Linked DNA regions of Homo sapiens: region 1 is linked to region 2. The links are contacts of gene promoters, found by promoter capture Hi-C in blood cells and fetal thymus (Javierre and others, 2016). All regions are on one chromosome and are shown on one strand. Each heading gives the region's core, a stretch centred on a gene start or on the middle of the fragment in contact. The rest is flanking DNA. Distances are from core to core; before and after follow the strand shown. Region 1 overlaps LASP1 (LIM and SH3 protein 1). Region 2 holds the start of CACNB1 (calcium voltage-gated channel auxiliary subunit beta 1).

Evidence for each region. The method cuts DNA at HindIII sites, captures the fragments that hold promoters and counts their contacts. A CHiCAGO score of 5 or more calls a contact.
Region 1: a fragment that was not itself captured here is called in contact with the fragment with the promoter of CACNB1 in region 2 in 1 of 17 cell types (monocytes); the score reaches 6.2 in monocytes.

What each region holds. Positions count from the first base shown.
Region 1 is chr17:38,920,910-38,926,859 of GRCh38, forward strand. LASP1 (LIM and SH3 protein 1) reads left to right here. Exons shown (of 7, transcript NM_006148.4): 7 at 1-861. It overlaps LASP1NB (LASP1 neighbor), which reads left to right and starts at 4,705. Exons shown (of 2, transcript NM_001414697.1): 1 at 4,705-4,982; 2 at 5,508-5,950. The coding sequence starts at 4,785. The coding sequence ends at 4,862. RefSeq lists an enhancer at 1,090-1,700. The HindIII fragment of the contact is 985 bases long and covers 1,207-2,191 here.
Region 2 is chr17:39,193,777-39,199,533 of GRCh38, forward strand. CACNB1 (calcium voltage-gated channel auxiliary subunit beta 1) reads right to left here and starts at 3,893. Exons shown (of 14, transcript NM_000723.5): 1 at 3,636-3,893; 2 at 1,108-1,194. The coding sequence starts at 3,719. RefSeq lists silencers at 3,091-3,220, 3,651-4,050, 4,061-4,190. The HindIII fragment of the contact is 8,246 bases long and covers 1,966-5,757 here.

The DNA of each region.
Region 1 (5,950 bases), core at 449-2,948, 280 kb before region 2:
ACCTGAGTTTGGGAGAGTGGTGAGTGGAAGGGAGGAGCAGCAAGAAGCAGCCTGTTTTCACTCAGCTTAATTCTCCTTCCCAGATAAGGCAAGCCAGTCATGGAATCTTGCTGCAGGCCCTCCCTCTACTCTTCCTGTCCTAAAAATAGGGGCCGTTTTCTTACACACCCCCAGAGAGAGGAGGGACTGTCACACTGGTGCTGAGTGACCGGGGGCTGCTGGGCGTCTGTTCTTTACCAAAACCATCCATCCCTAGAAGAGCACAGAGCCCTGAGGGGCTGGGCTGGGCTGGGCTGAGCCCCTGGTCTTCTCTACAGTTCACAGAGGTCTTTCAGCTCATTTAATCCCAGGAAAGAGGCATCAAAGCTAGAATGTGAATATAACTTTTGTGGACCAATACTAAGAATAACAAGAAGCCCAGTGGTGAGGAAAGTGCGTTCTCCCAGCACTGCCTCCTGTTTTCTCCCTCTCATGTCCCTCCAGGGAAAATGACTTTATTGCTTAATTTCTGCCTTTCCCCCCTCACACATGCACTTTTGGGCCTTTTTTTATAGCTGGAAAAAACAAAATACCACCCTACAAACCTGTATTTAAAAAGAAACAGAAATGACCACGTGAAATTTGCCTCTGTCCAAACATTTCATCCGTGTGTATGTGTATGTGTGTGAGTGTGTGAAGCCGCCAGTTCATCTTTTTATATGGGGTTGTTGTCTCATTTTGGTCTGTTTTGGTCCCCTCCCTCGTGGGCTTGTGCTCGGGATCAAACCTTTCTGGCCTGTTATGATTCTGAACATTTGACTTGAACCACAAGTGAATCTTTCTCCTGGTGACTCAAATAAAAGTATAATTTTTACCTGCGGACTTGGTTTCCTCTCTGGCTCTGAGCTGCTGTTGTGTGTGTCTGTGTGTGGGTGTGTGTCTCTAGCTGTAAGGTGCTGCTGTGTGTGTGTGTGTCTAGCTGTAAGGTGCCACTGTGTGTGTGTGTGTGTGTGTGTCCTGTCTGCTTGGGGGCACTGGCCTGTGGCCCTCCTGGGACCTCTGCTGCCCCTCGGGGAGAGAATGACTTGTCTGGATGCCAAGGGGGAGTTTGCTGCTGTCTGTCAGGCCCTTGGCCCCTACTTCCTCCTTGCTGAGAACTCCCCACCAACCTACTTCTGGCTTTCCACCCGCTCATTCCTCTCTGCCCAACTTGGTGATGCTCCCGGAAGCTTCCCTGAGCTCCGTCTCGTATTACTGTGTCACTTCCTCAGTGACATATCTGTCTCCCCACTAGCCAGAGCCCTTGGGGCAGGTGATGAGTCTAATTCATCTCTAAATCCCGGGTACCTGCCCAGGAGCGGTGCGGAGCTGTTGAATTAATGAATGAGCTTGGCTGGGGAGCAGTTCTAGCACTCTGCCGCTGCCAGGCAGAGAGCAGGAGCTCCACGCATTTGAGGAACGAGATGACAGGGCATTCCACAGTGGGACGGGACCTGGATAAAGCTGTCTGTAAGGTGGCCTGGCAACCCAAAGCACTATTCACAGTGCCTTCTGAATGTAATCTTTAATACACATCCCCTTTCTTCCTTCTTCCTCACAACCCTGTGAGAGAAGTAACTACTTATAGAGGGGCTCACTGAAACCCAGAAAGGCAAAGCAGATTGGTGGCAGTCACAGCTAGTGGCAGAGTGGGGCCTGAGACCCCCATGTGATGCTCACAGTCTGGTGCTGTGCCACCCGGCCATGGCAGGCCGCGTGCCTGTGTCTGTGGCAGCTCTTAGATGTGTGTCTCCTGGGCTCCATGTTTTGCTCCAGGTGCCCAGGGTCTGTGACTGGCCAGAAGGCCAGGCGGCCTCCCCTCTTGCTCATTGGGCTTGGGAAGAGGACAGTGGTAGAGAGGGGAATCTGGCCCTGCTCAGTGCTGCCAATCAGCCTCAGGTCCAGCTGCTTGAGGGGCATTTCTCTCTTGGGGCTCAGAACTAAGGAATTCTCCAGCCTCAGAATCACAGCAGGGTGGAGAGGAGGAGGGCTCTCCTGAGCTGAGCATTTGTAATCTGGAGAATGACATGGCCAGAGTCAGCTGAGCTGGGGCAATGTGGGGAGCATCCAAGGCTGCCCTGGGTGGTATAATTAGAGACAGCACTGACACCTGCTCCCCTCCAGGGGTGCAGGCAGCCCAATACTTTCCCAATAGAAGGGAATTAGTTGGCAAAGCTTGCCTCATGTCGGCCTGCCCCACTCCCCGGGAGGCTTCATTCACCTTCAGATCTATTTGATGGAACAGTGCTTTGGGGGACATTGCTGCCAAGTCTCCACTCCCTGCTCACAGAAAGCTCTGCCTCCTGGAAATGGGCCAATGGGAGGAGTTTCTGGATTTCCTTCTGGCAGTGGCCTAAGTTCCTGAGGTCTTGCATTATGAGGGGGTTACCAATATATCTTAACCCCAGGCCTTTAAAAAAAATATTATTTGGGGTGGGGGCCAAGGAGACTAGGCCTCAGAGACGTCCTAGGGAATGATTTAATTTAATAGAAAATAATTGAGGCTTATAAAAAGGCACAAAAATCCTGGCTAACACAGTGAAACCCCGTCTATACTAAAAATACAAAAAATAAGCTGGGCGCGGTGGCGGGTGCCTGTAGTCCCAGCTACTCGGGAGGCTGAGGCAGGAGAATGGCGTGAACCCGGGAGGCAGAGCTTGCACTGAGCTGAGATCGTGCCACTGCACTCCAGCCTGGGTGACAGAGCAAGACTCCGTCTAAGAATAAATAAATAAATAAATAAATAAATAAATAAATAAATAAATAAAAAGAATAAAATAATTCTCTTTTCCCCCTCAGAAGAAACCACTTGAATTTTTTAAATTTCAGGGATACCCCTGGGGAATTCTTCAGTGTCCTCTCTGTGTACAACACTATGCTGAGCTTTTGGAAGAGGATACCAAAGAAAACAAAACTAGGCCGGGTGCGGTGGTTCACACCTGCAATCCCAGCACTTTGGGAGGCTGAGGTGGGAGGATCGCTTGAGTCCAGGAGTTTGAGACCAGCCTGGGCAAAATGGCAAGACCCCGTCTCTATAAAAAAAGAAAGAAGGAAAACAAAACAGTGGGTAATGACTGCAAAGAGACGAAGGAGTGGGTGGAGGAGGGGTCTCTGGTGCTCGTCCTGTAGGTGGATCGATGTGAAAGCAGTCCACTGCAAGCTGAGCAGTGCACGTGGGGTGTAGGGGCCTTCCGGACCAACAGGGGGAGCAGTGTGGCGCAAGAGGAAGAATATGGACTTTGGTGTCAGCATGCCTAGTTTTGAATCCTGGTCTCTGACATTTTTAATTAATTAATTAATTATTTTGAGACGGAGTTTCACTCTTGTTGCCCAGGCTGGAGTGCAATGGCACAATCTCAGCTCACTGCAACCTCCACCTCCCAGGTTCAAGCGATTCTCCTGCCTCAGCCTCCTGAGTAGCTGGGATTACAGGCATGTGCCACCATGCCCAGCTAATTTTGTATTTTTAGTAGAGCTGGAGTTTCTCCATGTTGGTCAGGCTGGTCTTGAACTCCTGACCTCAGGTGATTCACCTACCTCAGCCTCCCAAAGTGTTGGGATTACAGGCATGAGCCACCACACCCAGCCTTTTACTTTTTATTTTATTTATTAATTTATTTATTTTTGAGACGGAGTCTCGCTCTGTCACCCAGGCTGGAGTGCAATGGCACGGTCTCAGCTCACTGCGACCTCTGCCTGCCGGGTTCAAGCAATTCTTTAGCCTCAGCCTCTTGAATAGCTGGGATAACAGGCACCTGCCACCACGCCCGGCTAATTTTTATTTTTATTTTTTTTTTGAGACAGAATCTTGCTCTGTAGCCCAGGCTGGGGTGCAGTGGCGCGATCTCAGCTCTGCCTCCCGGGTTCAAGCAATTCTCTGCCTCAGCCTCCCAAGTAGCTGGGATTACAGGCATGCACCACCAAGCCTGGCTAACTTTTGTATTTTTAGTAGAGACAGGGTTTCACCATCTTGGCCAGGCTGGTCTTGAACTCCTGACCTTGTGATCCACCTGCCTCGGCCTCCCAAAGTGCTGGGATTATAGGCATGAGCCACTGCGCCCGGCTGGTCTCTGACACATCTAAGCTATGAACCATTAGGGTAAGTTTCTGACCATCTCTGAGCCCCATCTATGAAAGACTCATAGGGAGGTTGAAATTGCACCACATGTACGATATCTGGCCCAGTGTAGGAAATGTATAAATGTTAGCTTCATCCCTCAGGGAAGCCCACTGAGATCCACACGAAACTTTTGTCTGTGTCTCCCCATAATGTGACCTTTAGAAGTTGCCAATGGCCCACCCAATACCCAACCATGATTTTTCTGAGATAATCTGCCCGAGGTGTGTGAGAGGAAACGCGAAGAAGGCAGTCAGGAGGATTCACTCTTGGGGGAGCTGGGTAGGATCCTATCTCCTCCTACATCCAGAGCATGCAGGCTCCATTTAGATACAAAGGGGTGGGATTGGGTTCCTGGGGAGAAATTGAGCCCCTTTGATTCTGCGGTTCTGTGGGTCTAAATCTGGCATCTCCTTGGCTATCCACCCCCAGGCTTTGTGATTGGTTGGCTGTGGTTGGTGGGGGGGCAGGAAGCTGCTGGTGGAGCTGCAGCATCCTTCAGTCTCAGGCCCCTGGGAGGGGGAGGGGAAAGAACCAGGGCTGAGCTGTGGAGTGAAGGGGAGCCATTTCTCTCCACCGACTGCAACCTCCGTGCTCACAGCTCACGGTTCACCAGAATCCAGGGGCTTGGTCGGCCTAGGAATCCACAATGCTGGATATTTTCATCCTGATGTTCTTTGCCATCATAGGCCTGGTCATTCTGTCCTACATTATCTATCTGCTCTAGTGGCCTGGAGCTGCGGCCGGAGCCTGCTGGAGAACAGCTCAGAAGGAAGGATGGAGATGAATGGCCGAGTGCCCTGCTTGCTGACGCACCGGTGGATTTTTGCTTCTGCTGTTATCTCGGGTATTGATTCCAAAAAAAAAAGAAAAGAAAAAAAGAAAGAGTTTGCTTTCCTATTTTTTTTCTTAGACCACTCTGAAAAGAATAAGAAATGCCAGCTTCTTTCTTTGGGACCTAATTTAAAATAAGACTTTAAAAATTACAAATAAAATCCACAATGTAAACGATTTTTAGGCAGAACGGGTTGGGAATGATGGATGTGGTGGGGAGGGACTATTATTTCCTAATTTCTTCTTCAAGTTAGGTGCTCAAACTCAAGTTGTCTATTTTCTTCTGGTAATTAAAGGTAAAACACATCTTTGCATGTCAGCATACTTGCAATATAGTTGTTTACAACTATGCTTGTATAATTGCATTACTTAATGATTGACTCATTCTTATTTGAGGGTGAGACGGCAAATAAATTTTACTTGGGGTGGGGTTTTCGGGGAGATGTCCAACTGTGGGATATGGTGGAGAGGAGGGAGGAACTCCTGGTACTTTGCAGTTGTCCCCATCTGAGACTTTTTATTTCTGGGTTTCTTACAGCTCCTGGTCTCTCCAGTCCAACAAGAGGCCTCTCATCCACAGAAGCAGTCCTACTGCCCAGCAGACCTCTTTCAGAGCCTTCCAGACATGGCTGACCCCTGGCAAGCAAGGGGCTTTTTGAGCTGAGAGGCACTTGGCTGGGACTTCAGGAATTCATGGACAGGGCTGGCAGATACTGCATATGTTTGAGCTGTAGATGGGATTGAGAACAGAAAGTTGAAATGGAGACTTATTAAAGTTACCGTGGAGAACTGCTCAAAAATTCATTTTGAATTAAGGAAACTTAAATTCATTTTAAGTTTCCTTAGATCTAAATGCAACTGCACATTACACTCAAATATGTTCCTTCCTTCTCACACACAGGACTCCCTTGTGAAACTCAAGGGGAAGTTCAAGTTGTCCATCTTCATCTATGAAGTAGTCACTTTATCACTGTCTTTACA
Region 2 (5,757 bases), core at 2,643-5,142:
CTTCCCAGCCCTGGCCATGTCCTGCAACAGGAGGGATGAGGGGGTGATTGAAGAAAGGACTTCCTGTCTGTTCCTATACTTAGAAAAGGCTAGAATGAAGCCTCCCCTTCCTGAACCTCCCAAGTCAGACTGAGGCTCACATGTGCCAAGTGCTGTAGAGACAGAAGAAACGGAAAGAAGGGCCTCACTCTAATTAGTGGTGGATCTGCCTGGCATCACCCTCGCTCCTGGCCCAAGGTGGAAGGGAGGGGCTCATCTCCAGAGGACCCCTCCTCTGTGCTGTCTTCTGCCCTCAAATGCCCTGCCCATTTCCTCTTCAATACACGCCTTTTCCTTGTCTAATCCCAAGCCCCTCTCGCCTTTTTTGGGTACCAGGCTTTGGTGAGATGCTAAGTAGTCATAGCAACCACATGCCTCTCTCAGTCCCTCACCCTGAGCCTAAGATGGCCCAGGGTTGACAGATGAGAGCAGCCGCTTACTGACTGAGCACAGAAGACCCCAGAAAGCTATTCTCAGTTACACCCTTTCAGGCAGGGGTGCTGGGCTATCATCTTCTCTATTATAAAATCAACAGCCTCATGCCTCAACCACCCCCACCCCCGTCACCATCACCCTTTCTCTGTGCTTCTTAGACAGTCATGTCTCGAGGTGAGGAGCGTGTTTCCCTGGCCAGGACCTCACCAGGACTACAGGGACCCAAACATCCTTGCTCTGCTTTTCCTAGGACCTGCCTCCACCCAACCCTGTCACAGATTCTGGGGGAGGACATGGAAGCAGACAGCCGGCAGGGGGAGTGGGTGACAGCCCGAAGCAAGCTGGAGGGAGGCAGGCCAGGCTGTCCCTGAATGAGATGACGCAGGCCAGCAGGCAGCAGGGGAGGGTGCCTGGTGCTGGGGGAGGGGCCGGGCAGGGGCGGGGGCTGAGCGAGTGGGTGCCGCTGACAGCACATCCAGAAGAGGTCATGGGGTGTCAGGGTGATGGGGTGGCTCCAGGCAGGTGACAAATGGCACAGGGAAGGGTGCCTGGACAATACCGCAGACCTGGCTCACCAATGCTGGTCTCCACCAACCAGCCACCTCCCTCCTCTCCGCCCAGCCTCCCCATTACCTGGCGGACAAAGCTGTTGGATGTGGTATCCGAGGACGTGCTCCCATCTGACCGTTTGAATCGCCCTTTCCTCTTGCTGTATTTGCCCTGAAGAGGCCAGGAAAGGAACAAGAGTAGAATCAGAAGGGCCCTTTCCCAACCCTCATCTTGCCAGCCCCAGAGCTACAGCCAAGCTTGGGAACAGCACTCCCAGCCCCACCTCCACCCCCCTGCACATTCCTCCTGAGGTGGTACGACCCAAGGGGAGGGAGGGTCTCCCATCCTCACGGAGAGGGCCCAGAGCACAGCCAGGAGTGGGGACCAGTGCAAGAGAGCCCCAGAAGACCCACACGGAAACCACCAAACCAAGCCAGAGAGGCTGGGAAGGGGGGAGGCGCGGAGAAGCTGGAGGCTCATTAGGCAGCAGAGCTAATTAAGATGCTGGGCAGGCTGCAGAGGCCTCCGAGGAAGGGAGAGGCAGCCGGCAGTGCTGGGTGTTGGGTGGGGAGAGCGGGAAAGTCACCCCCACTCCCCCTCCGCAGGAGCAGAGCAGGGCTGTTTGTGTTGGTGGCCCCCAGAGAGGAGGAACTGCCAACCCAGGGCCCAGCCTGGCTTCTCCCCTGTGCCCAACTCTTCCCTTCGCTATTCACAGAGTAGGGAGGGGATGACAGCTCTCTTGGAGACTCAGAGCCAGATTTCTGGGGAGGGAGTAGGGGCATGGAACTGTATTTGGAGAGTAAACATCCAGCCTGATCCCTGGCACCATGGGGGCAAATTTTGCTCCCCACTCTCATCCCTTGCCCAGACAGGACTTTTTCTCAGCTCCCTCTCTCACAATCACAGTAGCTACAATCCTCCCCAAGGGGGCAAGAGGGATCAAGCTTCTACCCTGTGGCCCCCAGCTGCCACTGCCCATGCCCCATGCCCATGGTACCCATCAGGCTACGTCAATCTAAATGTCCCTCGGCCCCGCACCACATGAGCCTAGGACACAGCCCCACAGATCTCTAGGGGGTAAGCTGGCTCAGTCTCAGAGACCGGGTGGAGGAAATACCGCCTGACCATTCAGGAAGCCACACGTTCAGGTTAAGGGCGTCAGGTATTTCCAGTCCTCTTGTAAGAAGAGCTGCTTCTGGCCCTCCCCAGCTTGTACCCACACACACTTGGCCTCAGCCCAGTTCAGAATGGGGAGAGTGAGTGAGGGCTCAGACTTCCAAGTCCCCGCCCTTGGTCTCCATCCTAGACTTTCTTTGGCCAAAGAACCTGGAGGGGCCATGACCAGACTGGGGGCTTTGGCTGCTGGGATCAGGGTACAAGAAAGAGGATGGAAAATGGGAGAGGAGGGCCCCTGGGGACCTTTCCAAGATCCTCCCCTCCCCGCCCTTCTCTCAAACCAGACATATACCCCAACTCAAGTTGTGATGCTCCCTACAAACCTAGGAGGATCACCCAGTGAATCCCAGACACCACCCTCCCCCACCACTGCCAGGCTGGGCAAAGGGAGTGGCACTCAGAGGGACAGGGGACAGCTGAAAGGAAGGCCCCAGTCAGCTGCCTCCCAGGCTCAAAGGGGCCTGGGGTGGAGGAAGGTATTTTTAGGTCTGACTTGACCCCTCTACATACCCATCAGTCACATTATCATGGTGGTTACAGCTGGTGGCCACAGTAACAGAAGAGTTAATGCTATCCTTGGAGAAGGACACTCCCAAAGAAATCCCCTGGCGCGACCATCCCAGAGCCTGCTGGTCACCCCATGAGAACCCACCGCGCCCAAGAATGCCACTTCCTGGGAGTAACCAGGGGTGTAGGAAAAGTGTGCGGGTGGGGATGGAGAAGTAGACCCCTCCCCCAGGTAAAACAGCTTCCCCCCCTCCTATGAGTTGGCATCCATCCAACTTTCCAAACTTTGGAGGCGTTTTTGGGGCGGGGGTGGGGGTGGGGTAAGTCAACGTGGGTGTGGGGGGAGGGGAGCAGGTCCGACATAGAGATGGAGCCCAGGTGGCTGGGAGGGGACCTCGACCGGGGTTGGCTCTTTCCCCACCCTCGAGAACCAGTGTCTGCGGCTTTGAAGGCCTGTTGGCATTTGGCACCGCCCTCTGACCATCGCCTCGGCCACCTCCTCGTGCCACCCCCGCCCCACCCACACCCGCCTGGCGCCCCCGAGCGTGCTCTGCGTCGCCCCCCTTGCCTGGCTCGCTTTCTAGCCTCTTTCAACCTCCCCTTCTCAAGGCCCAGATCCCCCTCCACCAGCACCCCCACGCTCAGCCCACTGAAGCTGGTGCCCAAGCGGCAGGAACCTTGACGCGGGGGAGATAAGGAGGCGAGGGTGACAGGCAGCCCACCCGCCCCCTCCCCGCTCCGCAGCATCGCCACCCAGCCCCAGGCCCAGCGCCCATCAATCACAACCTGCAAGGATGGGGGGCGCGCAGGCATCCCTCTCTCCTCCGCGCCCGGCATATAACCCCTTCCTCTCCCGCGCCTCTCGAGCCGACCTTAACACGGTCCGCGGGAGCGACCCCCTCCCGTTGGGCCGGGCCACCACGCCTCACCTGCGGGCTGGGGTCGAAGACCTCCATGGGGATCTCCTGGGAGGGTGGGTAAGGGCCCCGGGACATGCTGGTCTTCTGGACCATGGAGAGGAGCCTCCCCTCCCGCCGCCGGCCCGGCCCAGCCGGGCTCCCTCAGCGCATGGGAGAGGCCGTGGGAGCCGAAAGCAGCGCGGCGCAGCCAGCACCCGGTCCAGCCACCCAGCTCGGCCTTCGGCTGCCTCCTTCCTGCCTTCCCTCGCTCCTCCCGCTCTCTCCACTGCCGCCGCCGCCTCCCCCGTAGGCTCAGCATCTCCCCGCGCCCCTCCCTCGCTCCCTCCCTCCGCCCGCCCGGCCCCGCCCCTCGCAGCCCCTCCGCCGGCTCGGCGCACACAATGGGCGTGCGGCAGCAGGGAGGCAAGCCCCTCTCGGCTCTAGGTGGCCGCAGGTGGGCCTCTGACTGGCCGTGGGGTGCAGGCGGCCCGCTGGGGCGGGAAGGCAGAAACTAGGCGTGGAACTTGGGGGAGGGGTGGGGGGGCGGTCTACCAGTGGATGCCGAGCGCTGATGGGGATTGGCATGGCTGGCACCACCCCCCTTTTGTCCCAAACCTCTCTTCCTGCGGGTCCCCCCAACCCACTCCTGTTTGGACCACCGGAACTTCCCGGTCCCGGTGATCCTGGGACCTGGCTTTAACTCCTTTCTCCCCAGTGTGGGGCCCAGGCTGCCTCAAACCAAACAGAAAAGCCTCTCCCTCCAACATGGCTCTGGGGCTGCCGGTGGGAGGCTGAGGCTGAGATGGGGAGGGTGTCCAATAGAGACAGCAAAATAAATCCCAGGGGTCCAGGAGTTCTGCCCTAATCAGTCACTAGGATACACCGCCCCCCCAACCCCTGTTCTTCCAAAAGGCCAGGAATGGGGCTGGGTGAGGTCCCTGCTCTTGGATGAGAAAAGAGGAAGAAATATGGAGCTGAGAGAGGAGAAGCTGGTAAAATCAGATCTCATGACCTTTGACCTAGAATTGCGCCACCTTTACCCCTGATTTAGGGAGAAACATCCAAGATCTGGATGCCACCCACCATGACTGGTGGAGAGAAGAGGAATAGGAGATTCTGGGCAATAGACTCTGGCGCCAATTTGGCTCAGGCTGTTTCTGGTTGTATAGCCCCGGACAAATCACCTCTCTGAGCATCAGTTTCCTCCTCTCCTATAAAATGGGGTTGCTGGTACTGTGGAGTCTGTGTCACCTGGTATTATTGGGAGGATGAGGGAGAATTAAATGAATTGCTGGGGTGTTTGGAGAAGCTGTAAGTTTCAATGAAGGGGTCACTCATGACAGGAGGACCCATTCCCTTCCTACTCCACCCCTTCTCCTGCTCCACAGAAAGGAGAGATGGAGAAGACCCTCTCCAGGTCAAGTGACCTTACAATAAGGCCACCACCTTGCTGTGTTCCGCAGGACAGGAGACTATGGGACTCCTCCTCCTCACCCAACTCTAATAGCAAGTGAATGGTCAGTCTGTCATTCCTCTGATCACAACACCTTGGGGAAGGCGGAGCAGTGAGTGAAGATGAAGCCCATTAGAAACGTTCCAGGAGAGTTCCAACCCTGAGCAGGGTTTCCACCTGCCCCTTGGAGACAAGAAAGGCTGGCATAACCGCAAAAGTATGGGCTTTGCAATCAGAAATATCTGTGTTCTGAATCTGTTACCTTAGCTGTAAAATGAGGGCAACGCTAATCGTGTTGTTGTGAGGAAGTAGCATAAATGTTGCTTCCCTTTCTCTCTCTTCTACTTTCTCAGCCAGGAAAGTTGAGATGAAACGGATAGGGTGATCAGCAGGAACCAATCATGAGTTGGAGCCTCAATTCAGATGTAGACTTCTTAAACCCCAGAATGTTCTTCTTGGATTTTTACATTGGGTGTTCCAGATCAGAAGAAAAGGACTGCTTTTTTTTTTTTTTTGAGACGGAGTCTCACTCTGTTGCCCAGGCTGGAGTGCAGTGGCGCAATCTCGGCTCACTGCAACCTCCGCCTCCTGGGTTCAAGCGATTCTCCTGCCTCAGCCTCCCCAGTAGCTGGAATTACAAGCACGCGCCGCTACGCCCGGCTAATTTTTGTATTTTTAGTGGAGACAGGGTTTCACCAT